Regions from separate parts of the Homo sapiens genome. Here all the other regions are linked to region 1. Evidence: promoter capture Hi-C in 16 types of primary human blood cells and fetal thymus (Javierre and others, 2016). All regions are on one chromosome and are shown on one strand. Each heading gives the region's core, a stretch centred on a gene start or on the middle of the fragment in contact. The rest is flanking DNA. Distances are from core to core; before and after follow the strand shown. Region 1 holds the start of MAT2B (methionine adenosyltransferase 2 non-catalytic beta subunit). Region 2 holds the start of NPM1 (nucleophosmin 1). Region 3 holds the start of MED7 (mediator complex subunit 7). Region 4 holds the start of ITK (IL2 inducible T cell kinase). Region 5 holds the start of DOCK2 (dedicator of cytokinesis 2). Region 6 overlaps SPDL1 (spindle apparatus coiled-coil protein 1). Region 7 holds the start of CLINT1 (clathrin interactor 1).

Region 1 (2,621 bases), core at 62-2,561:
GAACAGTAATAGCCTGTGTTTAAAAAAAAAAAAAATCGGAACATAAGAAACCTCAGGCTGTCTTCGATTACTGTTCTAGAGAAACTTTATGTTTACACGAATAAGGAAATGAGTTTTTGTTGGGGGTTGAGGAGGAAGGAAAGTCATGGTGTTCTGACGTGGAAAACTTCTTTAAAAGGCTGCTTAGTCTTTAGTTTGAAAATAAACCAAAAAGGTTTAGGAGTCGGGGAAAGGCCCTAGGAAAATCCAGACAGTGGTCACGTTTGTGGACGACGTTTAGAGCTTGCTATCCTGGGCACACAAGAACCCTTGGACTGTTCGGTGCAAAGTTGGCAAATCCTACACGGCCTGTGCCAGGGTTTACTTTCTGCATCAATTTCACAGGCGTCCAGCCTGGCTGAGGATTTTTTGCGGTTTTTAACTGGAAGGGAAATAAGTCGGCATCAGCACTTAGGGCTGCTTAACTTTTAAAAGGTGGTAGAACGCCCAGCCTTACACGCTGCTGCTTAAATTCTCGGTGCTCACCAAGGCTGGGCTCGTGTGGCCCAATCCTGCAATCCCCGAGGCGGTGTTTCTTAAAGAGTGGGCTTGATTCTGGTTAAACCCATTAAGAAGTCGGACCCCGGGCTCGTTTCTTGTTCTGTAATTATGGGTAAAGTCCAAGGATCTGCGTTTTGAAGAGGTACCTAAGTAGTTCATCTTCCTTCCCCCTACAACTTTTTATTTTTAATTAGTTAAAAATAGTTTTACATTTTTGATATCTCACACACAGGTTTTTTCTTTTTTTAAGCATCCCAGGAAGACAAATGGCTCAGACGCCAACCCTTTTATTTTTATTCCTTGTCTTTTTCTAAATCTTTCAAAACCCCCACCTAGAGCTCTAGAGATGTGTCCATTATGCTCTACCCACCTCCGCCCCCGCCCCCATGACTTTAAAATGCTTTTTATTCCACTTTTTATATTGCTCAGTCGATCCTCATGCACTGCGCAGTCTGCAAACTTGAAACTCAAGGCGATCCACTTCAATCTTTTCCCGAGTCAAGAAAAAAAGGAAAAAAAGTAGAATAAAAAGCACTCAAATAAAATCTCCGAAACAAAACCTGAATTCACTGCCTAAGGTCAGGGCCTTTCTTTTGTGTGTCGCTTTAAGCATCGGCGCGTGGGCTGGGGGCAGACCGCGCGTACCCGCCCTCTTTCTGGGGCGTCGGCGGAGCGTGGCCAATCAACGGGCGCGGCTATGGCAGCGGAAGCCGGAAGCGGCGAGCGGGGTCGTTCTGGGCCTAGGGGAGGCGGGCCGAGGGCGTCTGAGCTGAGGCCCGCGTCGATCCTGGGTTGGAGGAGGTGGCGGCCGCTGAGGCTGCGGCGTGAAGACGGCGGGCATGGTGGGGCGGGAGAAAGAGCTCTCTATACACTTTGTTCCCGGGAGCTGTCGGCTGGTGGAGGTGAGGGAGTCGGCCTGGGCGTCTCCGGTGGGAGCGGGGGCGCCGAGGGGGACGAGCCACCGGGGCTCGGGCGGCTTTGCAGGCGTATTCCGCCCGGGTCAGAGCCTCCGGCCGGGAGTGGTCTCACCGCCACCCTCCCAGCCCCGGATCCGAGGGGGGCGCCACCGAGTTTGTTTATCTCAGCGCACACGGGTCAGTGTTTTTTTCTTCCAGCCACTGCGGCAGGAAGCAAGTAGGTGGAGGTTTTACTTTCGAGTTCTGTCTCTGCTCCTGAGGACGAAGAGGTTTTTCAGAATTGTTTGTTTTGATTTTGGTTTTCCCCGTTTATTCATCTTTGGTTCGTATTTCTCGATCTTACAAGTTCGTAGGTTTGAGAAAGAACAGGAAAAGGTGACTTCTCACAAATAACAGTGCTGGAGATGACAACTTATTGAACTCTTAAGTTCTCAGCACTATGTTATGCACTTGACGGGCATTACTTTAATCCTCCACTGTGAGATACTTGTTATTGCCTCATTTTGTAGACGAGAAAACGGGCATAGAGGGTGAGACATTGGCCCAGGTTCATTCCGTAAGGTTGGAGCCTGGAATTCAGATACAGGTTTGTGTGACTGTCTTGGGCTTTGAACCACTACGGAGTTTCCCTGAAGGAAGATTATGGTGATGATTGGAAGATCCATCTCTGGTGCCCCCCTCGCCCCCGTCCCATCCTGCTCCATTCCACTTAAGGGCCTCCAGCATTAATCTGTCCACAGAACATATCCAACCCTGGGGATAAGAACACTACTAATGCCCAGACCATGTCTTTTGGAGAGAGTAGAGAATATAGGAGATGGCTGTTTCTGTTATTGCAAAGTTTTCATGCTTCCAAATTTACTTAGGGTTTTCAAATCACTTTGGTTCTTTGAGGGTAAAGTTAGGATAAATGGTCTATTAAACCTCTATGTTCCTAGGTCCTCCAGACCGTGCTGAGTGCATGTTACATACGTTTACATTTATATGTATGCATTTGTATGTGTACGTGTGCATATAAAGCTTAATCTACTTTCACAAAAAGAAGTTCAGTATAAAAATGAAAATAGCTTTTCGTGTTTTCCTTCATTAAAAATGAAACAACGAAGAGCTTGGCACAGACTTACTGCTCTCAAAACCTGTAGAATTAAAGCTTACTGACTCATG
Region 2 (2,621 bases), core at 77-2,576, 7.9 Mb after region 1:
GGTTGCATCCAGCGGAGATCACGCCACTGCACTCCAGCCTGGACAACACAGCGAGACTCTGTCTCCACACACACACAAAAAAAGGCATAACAAATTTAAGTGACTCAAAGCTTTATGTGACACAGGAGCTCTCAGAAAGGAACAGTTAAATTATAACATGTCCATATTATGCGTTAGTATGTGTCCACAACTAACCCATAATATGGACATGTTATAATTTAACTGTTCATTCCTCTCTTGATAGACACTGAAATCGTCTCTATAATTTTCCTGTAAGAAATAATGCCTTGGGGTGGGGGTGTCTTCCTTTCTGAGGCTATCATTTGTATTCCTCACTTCTTAAATTTGTTTGATATGTTGAGGCTTAAAAAAAAAAGATTACGGGTCTTCAGAACGCCCCAATGCCCGCGGGGTGCTGGGGTGCCTCGGAGTTTGTCAAGGTGTAGCTTAAAACGTTAATTCCCATGCTCGCTCCCAAATATTCGAATTAAGGCTTCTGTAGTTCTTACAAGTCACCCGCTTTCTTTCAGGAGGAATGTTAAAGATTAAGAGCGGCAAGAAGTCAGAGTCGGCCCACCCTCCGAGCTCTCTTAGGGCGATGTCCTTGCTAATTTGGAGACTGATTCAGTCCCCTTTTGGCCCCCAAGTTACGTAAAGATAAGGACTTTGGAGATGTTTTCTCAGGAAGGACAGAGCTGAAAAACAAAGTTCCGTAAGTCTGGCCGGTAACTACATCTTTCCTTCCTAACAAAGAATAAGCCGCAATTCACTCTCTCTGGCACCTGAACTTTGGGGTAACGATTAACTGCGATCCGAAGCCTTCAGGCAAGTAAAAAATTCCTGAAGTGATTACGCCTGTTTGGAGGCTTGCAGGGCACTAGGGGATGGGGAAAGGTGAATCGAGGTGCTCTCTGGCTCATTCGCAGCCGGCTAACCCGCCATATCTTACACAGCTAAGGGCTGCCGACGCCATTTTGCAGGGTGGGCTGCGCAGACTCTTGGCGGGAGGCCGGCGCGCTTGAGCGGGAGAGGACGTGGAAGGGTTGGAGGTGGGGAGTGCGCGTTACGACTGGAAAGCACGCGTGCGCACAGGCGACAGCAGCGGAGGGGTGGGGCCAGTGTACGAGTGCGCGTGCTCGGTGGGAGCCCGCGGAGTACCTGGAAGGAGGTGGGGGCGAGGTAGAAAGGAGTGGGGTTGAAAAGCGCTTGCGCAGGACGGCTACGGTACGGGGGTGGGAGGGCTTCGGAGCACGCGCGCGGAGGCGGGACTTGGGAAGCGCTCGCGAGATCTTCAGGGTCTATATATAAGCGCGGGGAGCCTGCGTCCTTTCCCTGGTGTGATTCCGTCCTGCGCGGTTGTTCTCTGGAGCAGCGTTCTTTTATCTCCGTCCGCCTTCTCTCCTACCTAAGTGCGTGCCGCCACCCGATGGAAGATTCGATGGACATGGACATGAGCCCCCTGAGGCCCCAGAACTATCTTTTCGGTAACTGCTGGGGGGAGCTGGAGCGAGGCCGAGCGGGGCCTGGTGGCGGTGAGGGTGGGGGTGAGGGGCGGGAATCCGGCTGCAACCGGGTCTGGTGGAGACCGCCAGACCGACGGGAGGCCTGAGCGGGTGGGAAGAGCTGCCTGAGCCCTGGACCTGGAGGGATTGGAGCCGCGGGGGGAGCCGGTGGCGTGAAGGGGGAGGAGACGAGCGGCCTGAAGCGTCTGGGGCGTGAGCGGTCCGAGGCCCGGGGCCTGAGGTAAAGTGGAACCGGCCGCCTGGAAGTTCGGCCTTTGCCGGGGATACGTGGCGGAGCTCCAGGCGTGGTTTATTTTCTAACGGCGGTGGTTCATAGGCTTCTGATGCCAGGCCCCGGGTTGGTGGTCCTGGAGGCTGGGTTCACCGGGAAGCATGGGCCTGCTTGTTGGAGCGGGTAGATGCACAGCCTGGCGTTATTCTGGCCTCAGAGCCTGGAGCTGCCGGACGTAGACTTACCTCGCGTGCTTCGGCCAGTTACTGGGGGTGGGGAGGCGCGGCGCGGCGTGAGGAGGCCGCAACCGCTGGGAGCACGTGGTTGCCACGTGGTTGGGGGAGGGAGGGGGGTGTGGGCGCTACATCCGGGACTCACCGGCGTGTTGCCACTCGTGAGCCAGGGATGCTGTGGCTCTGTTGAAGTGGGAAATGTTAAGAGGCTGGTAGCACTAGGGTTCTGGAGGTCTTTGTTCAGTGCTTACAGCATGTACTGTGATGGCAGCTCTCATTTTTTTGAGCCCCTTTTCTGTCTCACTGCGGTAGGTGGAGCTAGCCCCACTTTGCAGATGAGGATACTGGTGCCCAGAGATAAACTCACTTAACGAAGGTTGTACTTAGTAAAGGCAATAAGAGACTAAATCTAAACCAAGACGCTTGACTCCGTAGCTGCTGCTTCGTGAATATTAATGAGGCTTCGTTTTAGGGGGACGTCCTCGCATGCCGCCATTTGTGCGGCATTGACCAAACTGCTTTTCTAAATACAAGAAACACGTAGAGTGTTCGGTTTGAGTCAGATCAAGACCTAAGACTATTCGCAGAATTTTGGGAGCACCACCCCCCTCGACTTGCGGTAGTCCTGCCCCAAAAAGGAGAGTCCCACTTGGG
Region 3 (2,621 bases), core at 86-2,585, 6.4 Mb before region 1:
GGCCTCTGTAACATAATCTTCATTAACAATTCTATGAATTAAGGTTTTTGGGGTTTTTGTTGTTAGTTTTGTTTTTTGAGACAAGGGCTCAATCTGTCTCCCAGGCTGGAGTGCAGTGGTACCATCAGGGCTCACTGCAACCTCTGCCTCCCGGGTTCAAGGGATTCTCCTGCCTGAGCCTCCTGAGTAGCTGGGGACTACAGGTGCGCACCACCACGCCCAGCTAATTTTTGTATTTCTCGGTAAAGACAGGTTTTCACCATGTTGGCCAGGCTGGTCTGGAACTCCTGACCTCAAGTGATCCGCCCACCTCGGCCTCCCAAAGTGCTGGGATTACAGGCGTGAGCCACCACACGGTCCCACGAATTAAGTTCTATTATCAATTTCATTTTAGAAGTGAGGATCCGAAGTCTCAATGAGGGGAAGTGTTGCCCCAGATCAAAAGGTTAATAAATGGCACAACAGGAATTCTTATCCCAGGTCCCTTTAGCTCCAAAGGGCAAGCTCTCTTATATCCCTAAGCCGAGAAGCATCTAACTGTACAATAAGGACTGGCATATCACAAAAATTATATTTCTTTCTCTACTGTCTCTCTAGATGGAACTTTTCAAAGGTGATGGAGGTCTTATTTTTAATAAAAGCAGAGCCAAGCATCAGAGCTGGTTCTTAACTCAAGATCCAACATCTAGTGTTTGTTCTACTGGGGGAGAAGGAGCTTCACCAGAAGACGACAGACATTCCAGGGTCCCAGCCCCAGAGATTTGATTCATTCTGTCTACTGTGAATGGGCCCTAGAATGTCGCTTTTAAAACCTCTCCAGATGGACCTGACGATTAGGCTTGGGATCTACCGCCCTCGCCTGCCCCCATACCTCAGCTGTTTCATAACTGCTCCCAGAAGAAGGAAGGGCAGGGAGGGCTACTCTCATGTTACAAAGAGCCGGAGAGGGCAAATGACTCGCCCAAGGCCACACAGCTTAGAAAAACAGCGGCGCGGGGACTAGACGCCAGGTCTCCCAACCTCCACTCCGGCTCGGCGTCCCAACACGGAGGAAGCCCCGAGACTGCCACGCTTAGAGCCCCCTCCTCCAGGCTGTCCACCCCGAGGCCTCCGCGCTCTCGGAGAGACCGCACTCTCGGAGAGACTCGGGAGAGAAAGACGAAAGACCGCCTTTGGAGGCCGAACTCAGCCATGCCTCCCCAGTTCCCAGCCCAGCACAGAGGAAGCTGCGGGGTCCGGAAGAAAAAAACGCACACAGGCGGCGGCCCCAAACCGTTGCCGCCCACTTACCTCAGCTCTGGCTTTACACTGGTAGCCGCCTTCCCCTCTGCAGCCGAAACCAACTTCCGGTCTCCTCCGGGAAGAAGCCACCGACTCTGTCCTTGATTGGCTGTAAGAGCTGTCCTTTAACGAAATTCTAGCTCCGCCTCAGACCGATCCCTCGCTGTTGCGCCTACGTATGTTTGACTCCTCCCATCCACCCGTTACTGACTTTTAAAAGTCGTAGCTGAGGGTTCCGTTTCTTCGTTTCTTTTTGAATTAAGGCATAAAATTGAACAAGACACCTTATTGCTTTATTTTTTATAGACCCCTTATTGACCAGAAACAATCTTATGTTTTAATGTTTAACATGCTCTTGTAAGACTTAACGTGAATTTAGAAATTTATGACACGAAAATAACCTCCAAAAGAAACGCTTGCTATTGCGCCTGCGTATATTCCACCCCCTTCCCCATTACCACTCTTTTACTGACTTAGTCGCTGCTGGTAGTTCCATTCCTTTTGTCCTTTTTTAATTTAACGCATACAATTAAGACGTCTTACATACAAATTCGAAAATATAGACATGCAGGGTTTTTTTGTTGTTTTTTTCTTTGAGACGGAGTCTTTCTCTTTCGCCCAGGCTGGACTGCAGTGGCGCGATTTCGGCTCGCTGCAACTTCAGTCTCCGGGATTCAAGCGATTCTCGTGCCTCAGCCTCCCGAATAGTTGGGGTTTCACCTATTTTTTTTTCTTTTTTTTGTATTTTTGGTAGAGACAGGGTTTCACCGTGTTGGCGAGGCTCATCTCGAGCTCTTGATATGAAGTGATCCGCCCGCCTCGGCCACCCAAAGTGCTGGGATTGTAGGCGTGAACCACCACTTCCGGACTCCCCCATTTTAAATCCCTCGCACGTATCAATTTATTTCCTGAAGAAATCCATCTACGTTGAGCATAACCCAATCCAGCTTTTCTCCTCACCGCTGACCCCAATGTATCCTGCACCAGTGACTTCCAATGGTCGTTCCCAGTCCTCATTTTACTCCATCTGTCAGCAGCATTTGGCACATTTGATTAATGGATTGCCCCAGGACTCAGTTCTCCAACCACTTCTCAGTCAGATATCAGCTGGATGATTACATGCAGGCCCTGGAACACCGTTTCCTCTGCACTTCAGACCCTCATATCCAGTGGTGACAGACATCTTTCCCCAGTTGCACTTTACTCAATTGCAAATGTTCAATCGAAGGAATCACCTTTTTCTCCTTTCTCACATACCCCACCGAAACTACCATACCAGCCTTTTGCATTAGATCTATTTAAAAATAAGTAAATAAAGTTCCAAATATGACTGACCACCG
Region 4 (2,621 bases), core at 51-2,550, 6.3 Mb before region 1:
ATTTCCTAGAAGTTGTGCACACGACTTCTGCTACATTCAGTTGACCAGAAGACAGTCATACAACTACACCTAGCTACAAGGGAGGCTAAAATTTGTAGTCTTTATTCTTGCTGGCCAGATGCCCAGATAACTGTCAGGGATTCTGTTACTCTAGTAAGAAGGAGAGAGTAGCTATTTGGGAATAGTAGCAATCCCTACCTCAAGCCCATACTCAGAAAAAAAAAATACTATCTTGTTTGGGCAGTGTATTTCCACACATATGTCTTAAGAATCTCAGAATGGGGGAGGTAATTTAAAATATACCAGTACCGTACCCTCCTGGGTGTCTTGATTATGCTGGGGCATCCAGTATATGAAATAAAATTAGGCTGTTGTCTGGTAATTTACATTTAAAAATAAACATTGGAGAATTTCACTCCTATACAGCAATAATTATTATTTCATTTATTATTTATCCCTACCCACTACATGCAATATCTGCTTACACTAAAATCTCTTGATTATTAACATAGTAGAGGTAACTGTCACACATTATACTTCAACTATGTACTAACTCTAAGGTGACATGTATGACTAGCACCTACCATTCATAAGATGTATGGGATTCAGTCCTCCAAAGGACCCTCACAAGGAAGCTAAGGATCAGAGAAGTCATGGCTTGCTCAAAGAGAAACAGCATAGTAAGTGACAGAGCTGGGAATCCAACACAAGTTTGTCTGTTTTCAAAGCCCACATATACTTTGTTTATTATGCCATTCTGAAGGATTCACTTATTTTTCACTCTTCCACAAAACGTCAGGACAGAAAGGCAGTCATCTATATGTAGCATTGAGAAATTTCTATGGGCTTTAATTTAAATCTTAAAAACTAATAAACTTCAGCAACATATTTCTTCACTTTAATGTGTGAGGGTTTTGTGCTCATTACCTCTTTTAATTGTCCAACCCAATTTGGTGATGATCCATTCAACAAATTTTTCTTGAACATCTGTTTTATGTGTCAGGTACTGTGATGGTTGCTGAGTATATCATGGTAAGCAAAACCACACATTGTCCTTACTCCTTGTGCTACATGATTTAACTGCTGGATGGATTAAACCAGGAACTATAAAGATTAAACTGTAATCCTTACCACAATTTTGAGTTTACAGTTTTTCAAATATCATTTCAAGCCATTAGCAAAGGCTGTATGTATTTTTTACATATGCCTCCTCGTTTTGTGAATTTTGAAAGGATGTGGTTTCGGCCTTTGACATCAGAGGAGAAGCTCAGCTATGTTGGCTGAACGTTGATAGAAAGATAACGTTGAAGGCAAGTTGCCCTTGAGCAGCTCTCTGAAGATCAACTGCCTCCACATTGCATTCTTTGCCCCAAAACTCTTTCCTTTGGTTGTGCTAAGAGGTGATGCCCAAGGTGCACCACCTTTCAAGAACTGGATCATGAACAACTTTATCCTCCTGGAAGAACAGCTCATCAAGAAATCCCAACAAAAGAGAAGAACTTCTCCCTCGAACTTTAAAGTCCGCTTCTTTGTGTTAACCAAAGCCAGCCTGGCATACTTTGAAGATCGTCATGGGGTATGTGAGCAGTTTCATTTGTCTTTTTTCGCATAGCATTTTATGTTTGGACTGGGCTAATGCAAAAATATATACATAGCATAAAATAGAGCACAGGAAACACAAACATGCTTATTGTAACAACATAAAAAGTACAGTAAAAGTAATCAGAGGAGAATGCAGAGAGCAGTCAAGAGGTGAAATGGTGGTGCTAGGTGATTTCAGTTCTAAAAACTGTAAATTTAACATTCATCAGCTTTTTCCCCCTGCAAGGTTATGTTTGGTTTTTAAATTATGAATAACATTTTAGGTAGCAAGTATTATGATTCGATAAAACTTGAACTTTCTATGAAACATACTAAATTTAATGAAACATACTAAATTTAATGAAACATAGATTAATACAACACTAGCATTCAATGGGATGATCTACCCCAGCTTTCTTATTTTTTAGTGGAAGAAACTGGTGTTTAGAATGGTTAAGTTTTGGGTTCAGTGTTAACGTTTTCATGAATAACTCTGTTTGTCTCAATACTCGTCGCTAGCCTGATCTTGAAATAAGATTTCCCAGGCATTTAATTATCTAAAAGTTGTAAGGCACAATGGCAAACCTCTTCATCTCTTGATAGACTTCTTAGGACACCAGGGTTATTAAGAACAAAGTTTCTGCAGTGCAGACCAGCGGTTCTTACCCAGAAGGAGTATGGCTGCTTTGCTAGGTCAGTCTATCTCTTTATCTAAAAATAGTCTTGTGCTTCTTAACATCACTAATAACAAAAGCAACAGGAATAATCCTAATAATGTAGTTTGGTAGAAAAAGCATTGGACAAAGGGTCAGGAGACCAAACTCTACTTCTCAGTAGGTGATCCAGTCTGGGCAAATGTCTACCTCCTGTTTCAGGTTCTTTCTTCATAAAATGAAAAAACTGGAAATAACAACCTTCAAGATCCCTTTCTTCTTCAAAACTTCTTTGCTTTATGCAGTGGCTCTTGTTTAGCCCTATGCTGCAATTTTTCAAAGCATGTTTGATTTCTTACTGTATGGTTATATTATTTTTACATCATT
Region 5 (2,621 bases), core at 33-2,532, 6.1 Mb after region 1:
CCTAATTTGTGCTGCTAGAAAACAGAAAAGAAAATAACTGCAGATAAAACAAAATCAATAATTTTTTGTTGCTCCAGTTCAGCTGTGATATTGCCTAATCTATCTTAATGACTCTCCAGTGTAAGGCAGAAAGGGGTAGTGAGAGTCATGAATAAAGAAAGAAAACTCAGCAAAACTTAAATTCAGCCTTATCACTGTGGATCAGACTTTTTTTTTTTTTTTTTGGACAGAATCTGTTCTCAGAGCAAAAATGAGATTTTTCGAGGAAATGTCTCCATTAGCCTAACTCTAGGGCTCTTTTCCTGGGTCCCACTGTTGCTGGCTGTGACAGCACCCTTCACCTTGCAGTGATGTTGGTAAATAGTGTATTTACGTATTTTCAGAGTAGAGCTTCTAGAGCTTACATCAGATTTTCCAACGGGTTTGTAGCACCAAAACGATAAAAAGCTGTAAATGGGCCAGGCACGGTGGCTCACACCTGTAATCCCAGCACTTTGGGAGGCTGAGGCTGGCGGATCACCTGAGGTGGGGAGTTCGAGACCAGCATGACCAACATGGAGAAACCACGTTTCTACTGAAAATGCAAAGTTAGCCGGGCATGCTGGTGCATGCCTGTAATCCCAGCTACTGGGAAGGCTGAGACAGGAGAGTCGCTTGAACTCGGGAGGCGGAGGTCGCGGTGAGCCGCGATCGCGTCGTTGCACTCCAGCCTGGGCAGCAAGAGAGAAACTCGAAACTCCGTCTCACAAAAAAAAAAAAAAAAGGCTGTAAAGGATCCACCTCCAGGTAAACATTTACTCTTCCATGTCACCTGCTGTGTACATTGTCTCTCTAACCCTCACAATAATCATATGAAGTAGGTATTAGTATCCCATTTCACAGATGAGAAAACTGAAGCTTAGAAAAATGAAGTCATTTGTCCCCGTCTGGATTCGAACCGAGATCTGACACCAAAGCTCATGCTGAGGGGAGTTAAGGAGGTTTGTTCAGTCCCTAGGCACGGCAATCAGGAAACTCTCTGCACTTGCGGTGGTGGTCTGGCGAGCCCCAGGTGGGGACTGGCCTCTGCTCCCTCGCCTGGGGAGGAGACAAAGTGGGAGTGGTCCCCAAGTTTTGCGTGAAGTGGGGTGGGGTGGCGTGTCTTAGCCTACGGGGCACCAGCCTTCTAGTGTGCCCCTGCCCAACGGGAGGGAGGAGGGAGCGGGGAGCCCCGGCGAGGGAGGAGAGGGCGGGCCCTGAGAGGAGTTTGAAAAGAGGAAGGAAGTGGGGCCCTGCGGCGCCCAGCCACCCCCTGACGGCTTCCCCACGGGAGGACGCGAGGCCCCGGCCCAGCCATGGCCCCCTGGCGCAAAGCTGACAAGGAGCGGCACGGCGTGGGTAGGTGCGGGCCCCAGGGCGCGGCAGGGAGCGGGACAGGTGGCGGGAGAGCCGCGAGCAGGAGGATGCTGCGGGGCCGGCGGCGCGGGGTGGGCAGGGCGCGCTGCCTGCAGGTCAGAGGGCGCAGCCTGCGGCGGGGCCTCGGGGCGGGAAAGCCGAGGCTCGGGGAGAGGACGGCGGGACCCCACCCCGCAGGCTAAGCACAGCCCTCGCCCTCTCGCCTGCTGAGGGAACCTTAGACATTTCCGAGATAGGGTCAAGACCTGCGCTTGACAACTCAGTTCTTCGCGCCAAACTCGGCGTCCCCAGGAGTGCCCCAGCTCGCCGCGTGGGAGACTTGGCCTTGTAGAGGGAGCTCCACTCTCCCCTGGCTCAGCCTTGGCCTGCCCACCATGCATACTTCCACCCCCTCCAAAGCGACACCCATTTGCCTGCTTCCCCTGTCTGTTCCTCCTGGGTCAGATGACTCCTGATTTGGCAGGGCATCCAGAGGGCAGCTCAAGCTTGGGGGAATGGGGCTGGACGGTGGGGTTCTCTACTCAGCCCCCCAGAGCCTCTGGGGAAAAAGGCTCCCGCCAGGTGGTCTTAGGGTAACCAAGAAGCTAGCTTCGTCAGCCTCAGCCATCTAAACTCCCAGAAGCCTCTGCCTGGAGCTCAGGGGCGGAAGTGGTGGCTGGGGGAAGGGAGGCCTCAGGTGCTGCTACTCTAAGTGTCATCCGTGGTGCAATCTCCATGGACTCACTGTGGTTTTTAAACTTAAATATCAAATAAAAAGTCACTCTGGAGCTTCCTACACAGGCGGATACCAGACACCATCTCAGAGATAAATATTTCGCAGGTGAGGCATTGGAAGACCCAAACACCCAGAGGGATTTGATGCAGGGGGTCCCCAGGCCACTGTTTGGGAAACACTGCCCTGGAGAGATCAGCAGTTATCCACTCAATTACTGGGTACCGGGCACTGTGGGGTCATTTTGATATAAATGGTCCCCATCCAGAGAACAAATAATAATTCATATCTCAAGGGGCAGTTACAAAGTAAGGAAGGATACAGCTTCTGCCCTTGAGGAGTTATGTGTAAGGCTAGAGGCTTGGACTGGGAAGTCAGAACTGAGTTCAAATCAGGGTCTGTTTCCTCGTCTATAAAGTGGAAGTAATAATAATGCAGGTCTCATGAGACTCTTGTGAGGATTGAATGGGGTTATGCATGGAAAGCATTTAGTAGTGTGCTGGCTCAATAAGAG
Region 6 (2,621 bases), core at 1-2,500, 6.1 Mb after region 1:
CTCCCTGGGCTTCTTCCTGCCTTAAGGATTCCCCTCTTGCTGGAACATTCTTCTTCTAAATAGCTGCCTGGCTGATTCTCTCATCTTCTGCCTCCTGGTTACATCACCTGTCCCTTCTTCCCAGATTCTTATTCTGTTCTATTTTTTCTCATCTCCCCTTTCTAATTTATTAATATTCTGTTACTTACTGTTTATCTTCCCCTCCTGGAATGTAAGTTTCATGAGGGAGGAGCTTTTTTTTCGTCCATTTTGTTCCCTAATGAATCTGAACTGCCCAGAATGGAACCTAGTATATAAGGCATTCAAGAAATACTCGTTCAGTGAATGACTACATTGACTTGAGACATGGGGGAACATCTTGCAATGACCTGGTGCCCTTTGAAGGCAAAGGTGAGTTTGAGTCTCGCTTAGGAGGCTGGGACCAAATAGTAAAGGATAATTAGTAAGGTTGATTAAAGTGGAATGTTTCTATATATAATGTTTAAGTCTTTGTTTATAAATCTAGAATGAAAGCAACATCCTTTAATTCTTATGGATATGGTTTCTATTTTTGCATACTTTTATGAATAACTAGAAAAATACTAGTGAATCTCTTTCCAGGAAAGCAGATTTAATATATTCAGGAAGTTAACACTGTTGTGAAAAATTACAGACATGATATTTCTTACTTTACCTTATGAGCCTTATTCACAGCTGCCTTTTTATATTTTATGTGTTTATAGTACCCAGACCTTCCTTTTCTGGTGGTATTATTGTTATTATCATTATTATTTCTCAAGACAGTGTCTTGCTCTGTCAGTGCCATGATCATAACTCACTGAAGCCTCTAACTCCATCAATTTTCCTTCCTTAGCCTCCCAAGTAGCTAGGACTACGGGGGCTTGCCACCATCCCCACCTTATTTCTATTGATTGATTGATTGAGATGGAGTCTTGCTATGTTGTTCAGGCTGGTCTCGAATTCCTGGCCTCAAGTAATCCTCCCCAGTTGCTGGGATTACAAGCATGAGCCACCATACCTGCTACTATGAGGTTTCTTGATTACTTTTTTGTTATTCCCTTAATTTTGATTATATGGATAGTGGTCCAATTATGAGACCAAACTTACCTTAACATATTGGAAGCTTAGCATACAACAACTGAACAGTTTTCTGATGGTGAACTGTTTAGAAGCAAAATTAAATGTATTCTATTCCACTCTTTAATTTTTGATCCCAAATCAGTAACAGAATTGTCAGAACAGTTCTTGCTCTTGGAACAAGAATGCAAATTTGACTACTTATTAGTCAGGAAGAAAATTTTAATGTTTTTATACGACAGTAGTATTGAGTAGATATGTTTCTTCTGTTATTGATATTATTGCATGGAGTTTTTTGTATAAGCTTAAGTAGTTTTATTTCCTCTATTTACAGTTGGCTAAAAAAAAGAAAAGAACATGGAGGCAGATATAATCACAAATCTTCGATGCAGGCTCAAAGAGGCTGAAGAAGAGCGACTAAAAGCTGCACAGTATGGTTTACAACTAGTAGAGAGTCAAAATGAATTACAGAATCAATTGGATAAATGTCGTAATGAAATGATGACCATGACTGAGGTAGGACTCTGGACTCCTCTGTCTGCAAGAGTGTGCTTAGCTATTGAAGATTTGTCCTGTTTAGCAATTAATAGTAGTAGTAGTTTATTCTTTTCTGAAGATTTTAGATCTAGTTCCCGCCCTGCCCCGTCCCTGTTAAAAAAGAATGAACTAAATGAATTCCTGTTATTCTTTCCACCCTAGTGTATTCAGAGTTTGAAAGATCAAGTTATCATTACTCTCTTTGCCACATTTACTACCAGATTTTGCTTTGTCTGCACACTTCCTAGAAGACCTCACTTGTTTTAGACCTCTAAACATCTAAGTGCCCCATGACACTACACCAAGCCCTTAGTTCCCCCATGAAATCTAGGTTTGTGTTCAACTGCCCACTAATAGACTTCTCAAACTTAACACAGACAGAAGAGTGGATTCCCTGTCCGTTAACCAAATATTCTTTTACGATTTTTTTTAGCTTATTTAGTAAATATAATAGCATTCAGTTTCTTGAACACCAAAAATCTTTATATACCAAAGATTTTTGGTATATTTTTGGTTTCTTTATATACCAAAAATCTAGAACTTTTAGTCAATATCTTCCCTTTATTTCTCACATTTCACTCATTAATAAGTTCTAAGAACTAGACTACAAAGCATGTATCTTTGCTACTGGCACTGTAGTCCAGATCACCATCATCACTCCTAGACAAGTATTGTAGCCTTCTGGCCGGGTTGCCTGCTTCCATTGTTGCCATTCATGCCATTCATTCTTCACTCAGCGTCTAAGTGGTCGTGGAATAACACACCAAAGGTCATGCCACAGCCCTGCTAAAAACCATACAACAGCTTCTGATTTTATTTACAACAAAATCTGAGCTCCATCCTTGGGTTTGTAGATCCCTATGTGACCTGACCCCTGCCAAGCTTCTGACCTCACCTCAAACTGCTTTGCCTTGTTCTTGACTATACTGGTCCTCCCTTATGGGCTTTACACCAGCTATTGCCTTTTTTTTTTTTTTGAGTTGTTTACCCCTCACTGCTCTTGGGTT
Region 7 (2,621 bases), core at 31-2,530, 5.6 Mb before region 1:
TCAAGAAAACAGTTTGCTATCTATACTTCCTGATTTTAGGTTAGGTGGGTGGCACAAATCAACTGTTTTTCTCACCACACTTATTGCATAATCATTAAAGCCCCAAAGGAAGAGGACTGCTTAAATTCTTAAACTTTATTTCCTGCTGGCCTAGAAGACCTTACTTAACCACTGTTATACCTGATATACTCATTTTAAAAGTTAAGGTTTTCCTTGTGCAAGTAAGAGACTAAAGTTATTTCAGTCTTAAAGGAAATCAACTACGTACTGGTCGTTTTACCTGCTTTTAAAAGCAGATCAACAGGATATAAACCTGGGTTGTTTTTTTCCTTAAGAGGACATTTCTTAATGACCTCTTAATTTAATCGAATGGAACAAGTAGCACACCAAAAATGATGTGTAGTGGAAAAAGAAACAGAAGAAAAAATCGCAAGAAGTCATATAGTGATCTACTTTCACTAGTGTTAGAAAAGCAAAGGATGAGTGTCTTCTTGAGTAACTTCAGGCTGACCACAATAGCCACTTGTTACACTACTACCACCCACTCCAACACTTCAGGTTCATTAGGAATTAAGAGGAGGCAAGGAAGATAAAAGACACACCCCAACCAGGTCTAAGGTCTCTCCGTACTACACCTTGAGGGACACAGGGAACCAGTGCATTGTGCCCCCCACCCCCAAACCTTCCCTGCTCCCCAGGAGGCAAAGCCCACGGCCTGGGGCCAAGACAGTCCTCCGGCCAGGGCAGTGACCCAGCGCCAAACAACCCGCCCCTTATGACCAAAGCGTCGGCACCCAGGGGTTGGAATAGGGGAAGGGACGGGAAGGCCTGGAAAGGAGAGAAGGGTGGCCAAGAGGATGTTTTTTTTTAAAACGAGGGAGGGTCCCTCCCCAGCCTCGCCAGCGGGGATGAGGCCCGGGGCCGGGAAGGAGCGGGCCGCCGCCATGATGGGGCTGGCAGAGCCAGGGGGCGTGACGTGGGCAACCCCTAGCCCAAGGCCAGCTCCTTCTCCCCCTCCCCCCTCCCCCACGTGGGCCTCGGCCACAACTGCCCCCCGATACTCACGCTTTGTCCACCAGCTCGCGCACCTTCCACATGTTCAACATCGTGCCCCGCGCGGGACGGTCCGCCGCCTCCCTCTCCTGCTCCCCACGGACCCCGGAACACTTCCGTACCGGGGCAGTTCCAGGCCGGGGTCACCGCCGCCCGCCGCCTCGAACTCCCCCAGTCAGCTCCTTCCTTTGCCACAGCAGCGGCGCCGCCGGTGACACGTCGAGACGCGGCAGCACAGGCGCTGCGTGGAGCGGAAGTGTCCGACTTTCCGCCGCTGCGCGCGGGGCACGCCGGGACTTGTAGTTTTCCCTGAGTGCCGAGCTCGGCCGGTTGAGTTGGGAGAGCTGAGAGGTTGAGTTGGGAGAGCTGAGAGGAGTTGGGATGGTTTCTCTTAAGCTTTCCCAGTCCCCGGCCCCAGACCTACCGAGCCAGAAATTTTGGAGGTGGGGCCCAGCGATCTGTGCTTTTACAAATCCTCTAGGTGATTCTGATCACGCTCAAGTTTCAGAACCACTGGTGCAGGGTCTAGTCACACTCAAACACTTTTCAAATGTAAGGCAGTATTACTATGTTATTAGTAATGATTATACAGAAGTATGATTGGCATACGCATTCCTCATCGACAGACACATCGCTGTATTTATTTCCCAATGCCCAAGTACACTTAGATCTCTAGGCCTTAGTTTCCACCCCTGTAAAATTGAAGAACTTGTATTCTAAATCCTTTTCCGCTCTAATTCTATGATACAATGTTTTATATTTAGACAACTACCTGAAATCCTTGTTAAATGCTTTACTATAAACCTCAGAAACTCAGTTCACACTCCACGGGAAACTAAAAAGCCAACATTATATATACACGCACACATACACATACATATGACAGGTTTGTGTTTTTTAAGGATAAATATGCACATTGCTTCCATTGCTTTGTTGCAATGGTTGTCATCACTTCCTTCTCTACTTACTCATTTTTATCAATGCTCATGTTAAAGCTACAAGCAACCTTAAGTTTCATTTGATCCATCTGCTGAAATTTTACAGTTCTTTTCATTCTACAAATATTTATTGAGCATCTTGTATGTTCCAGAAGTGGGGAATATAGTTAAAGACCCAGCTCTCTTGGAATTCAAACGTAATTGGAAGAAACATATAATAATCAAGGAAACATTTAAGATAATTGCATATAGTGTAATTGCTTAGCGGGTTCTTTCTGCCCACTTTACAGATAAAGTCAATTCACTGCGACCAAGTCATTGCAGTGAAGAGTTTGACATGAGGCTGGCCATGCCACTTGAGAGACAGAGTTATTACTCAAATCAATCTTCCTGAACATTTGGAAGCTAGAGTTTTTCAAAGATAGTTTGGTGAGCAGAGGGTTAGGGCATGGGTGCTGCTGATTGGTTAGGGATGCAATCAGAGGAGTATGGAAAATGGTTCTCCTTTGCTGAATCGGCTTCTTGATGGAGGGCCAGCAGAGGAGTGGCTGGTCTGGGTGGGGTCATCCGTTTGTCAGAAATGCAAAAGCCTGAAAAGACGTCTTAAAAGGCCAATCTTAGGTTCTACAA

What was found. The method cuts DNA at HindIII sites, captures the fragments that hold promoters and counts their contacts. A CHiCAGO score of 5 or more calls a contact.
Region 2: a contact is called between the fragment with the promoter of NPM1 here and the fragment with the promoter of MAT2B in region 1, in 3 of 17 cell types (total CD8 T cells, total CD4 T cells and naive CD8 T cells). The highest score is 8.2, in total CD8 T cells.
Region 3: a contact is called between the fragment with the promoter of MED7 here and the fragment with the promoter of MAT2B in region 1, in 8 of 17 cell types (fetal thymus, naive CD8 T cells, total CD8 T cells and 5 more). The highest score is 15.5, in fetal thymus.
Region 4: a contact is called between the fragment with the promoter of ITK here and the fragment with the promoter of MAT2B in region 1, in 1 of 17 cell types (total CD4 T cells). The highest score is 5.6, in total CD4 T cells.
Region 5: a contact is called between the fragment with the promoter of DOCK2 here and the fragment with the promoter of MAT2B in region 1, in 8 of 17 cell types (non-activated CD4 T cells, naive CD8 T cells, fetal thymus and 5 more). The highest score is 21.4, in non-activated CD4 T cells.
Region 6: a contact is called between a fragment that was not itself captured here and the fragment with the promoter of MAT2B in region 1, in 1 of 17 cell types (total CD8 T cells). The highest score is 7.0, in total CD8 T cells.
Region 7: a contact is called between the fragment with the promoter of CLINT1 here and the fragment with the promoter of MAT2B in region 1, in 1 of 17 cell types (activated CD4 T cells). The highest score is 8.7, in activated CD4 T cells.

Annotation. Positions count from the first base shown.
Region 1 is chr5:163,504,308-163,506,928 of GRCh38, forward strand. It overlaps MAT2B (methionine adenosyltransferase 2 non-catalytic beta subunit), which reads left to right and starts at 1,312. Exons shown (of 7, transcript NM_013283.5): 1 at 1,312-1,442. The coding sequence starts at 1,380. RefSeq lists enhancers at 1,045-1,851, 1,069-1,158, 1,199-1,318 and a silencer at 1,489-1,628. The HindIII fragment of the contact is 7,455 bases long and covers 1-2,475 here.
Region 2 is chr5:171,386,523-171,389,143 of GRCh38, forward strand. It overlaps NPM1 (nucleophosmin 1), which reads left to right and starts at 1,327. Exons shown (of 11, transcript NM_002520.7): 1 at 1,327-1,484. The coding sequence starts at 1,427. MIR3912 (microRNA 3912) reads right to left here and starts at 238; the gene lies at 134-238. RefSeq lists silencers at 1,608-1,667, 1,988-2,047. The HindIII fragment of the contact is 7,200 bases long and covers 109-2,621 here.
Region 3 is chr5:157,141,530-157,144,150 of GRCh38, forward strand. It overlaps MED7 (mediator complex subunit 7), which reads right to left and starts at 1,336. Exons shown (of 2, transcript NM_004270.5): 1 at 1,291-1,336. RefSeq lists enhancers at 1,004-1,053, 1,864-1,963. The HindIII fragment of the contact is 9,177 bases long and covers 1-2,621 here.
Region 4 is chr5:157,179,540-157,182,160 of GRCh38, forward strand. ITK (IL2 inducible T cell kinase) reads left to right here and starts at 1,301. Exons shown (of 17, transcript NM_005546.4): 1 at 1,301-1,576. The coding sequence starts at 1,439. The HindIII fragment of the contact is 39,229 bases long and covers 1-2,621 here.
Region 5 is chr5:169,635,993-169,638,613 of GRCh38, forward strand. DOCK2 (dedicator of cytokinesis 2) reads left to right here and starts at 1,283. Exons shown (of 52, transcript NM_004946.3): 1 at 1,283-1,377. The coding sequence starts at 1,335. RefSeq lists silencers at 1,151-1,630, 1,661-1,720 and an enhancer at 1,981-2,080. The HindIII fragment of the contact is 983 bases long and covers 896-1,878 here.
Region 6 is chr5:169,586,983-169,589,603 of GRCh38, forward strand. It overlaps SPDL1 (spindle apparatus coiled-coil protein 1), which reads left to right. Exons shown (of 12, transcript NM_017785.5): 2 at 1,412-1,593. The coding sequence starts at 1,435. Among named protein-coding and RNA genes, the nearest start is that of SPDL1, 4.5 kb to the left of the region's middle. The HindIII fragment of the contact is 258 bases long and covers 1,122-1,379 here.
Region 7 is chr5:157,857,865-157,860,485 of GRCh38, forward strand. CLINT1 (clathrin interactor 1) reads right to left here and starts at 1,281. Exons shown (of 12, transcript NM_014666.4): 1 at 1,066-1,281. The coding sequence starts at 1,106. RefSeq lists enhancers at 911-1,492, 1,330-1,569. The HindIII fragment of the contact is 1,599 bases long and covers 1-1,447 here.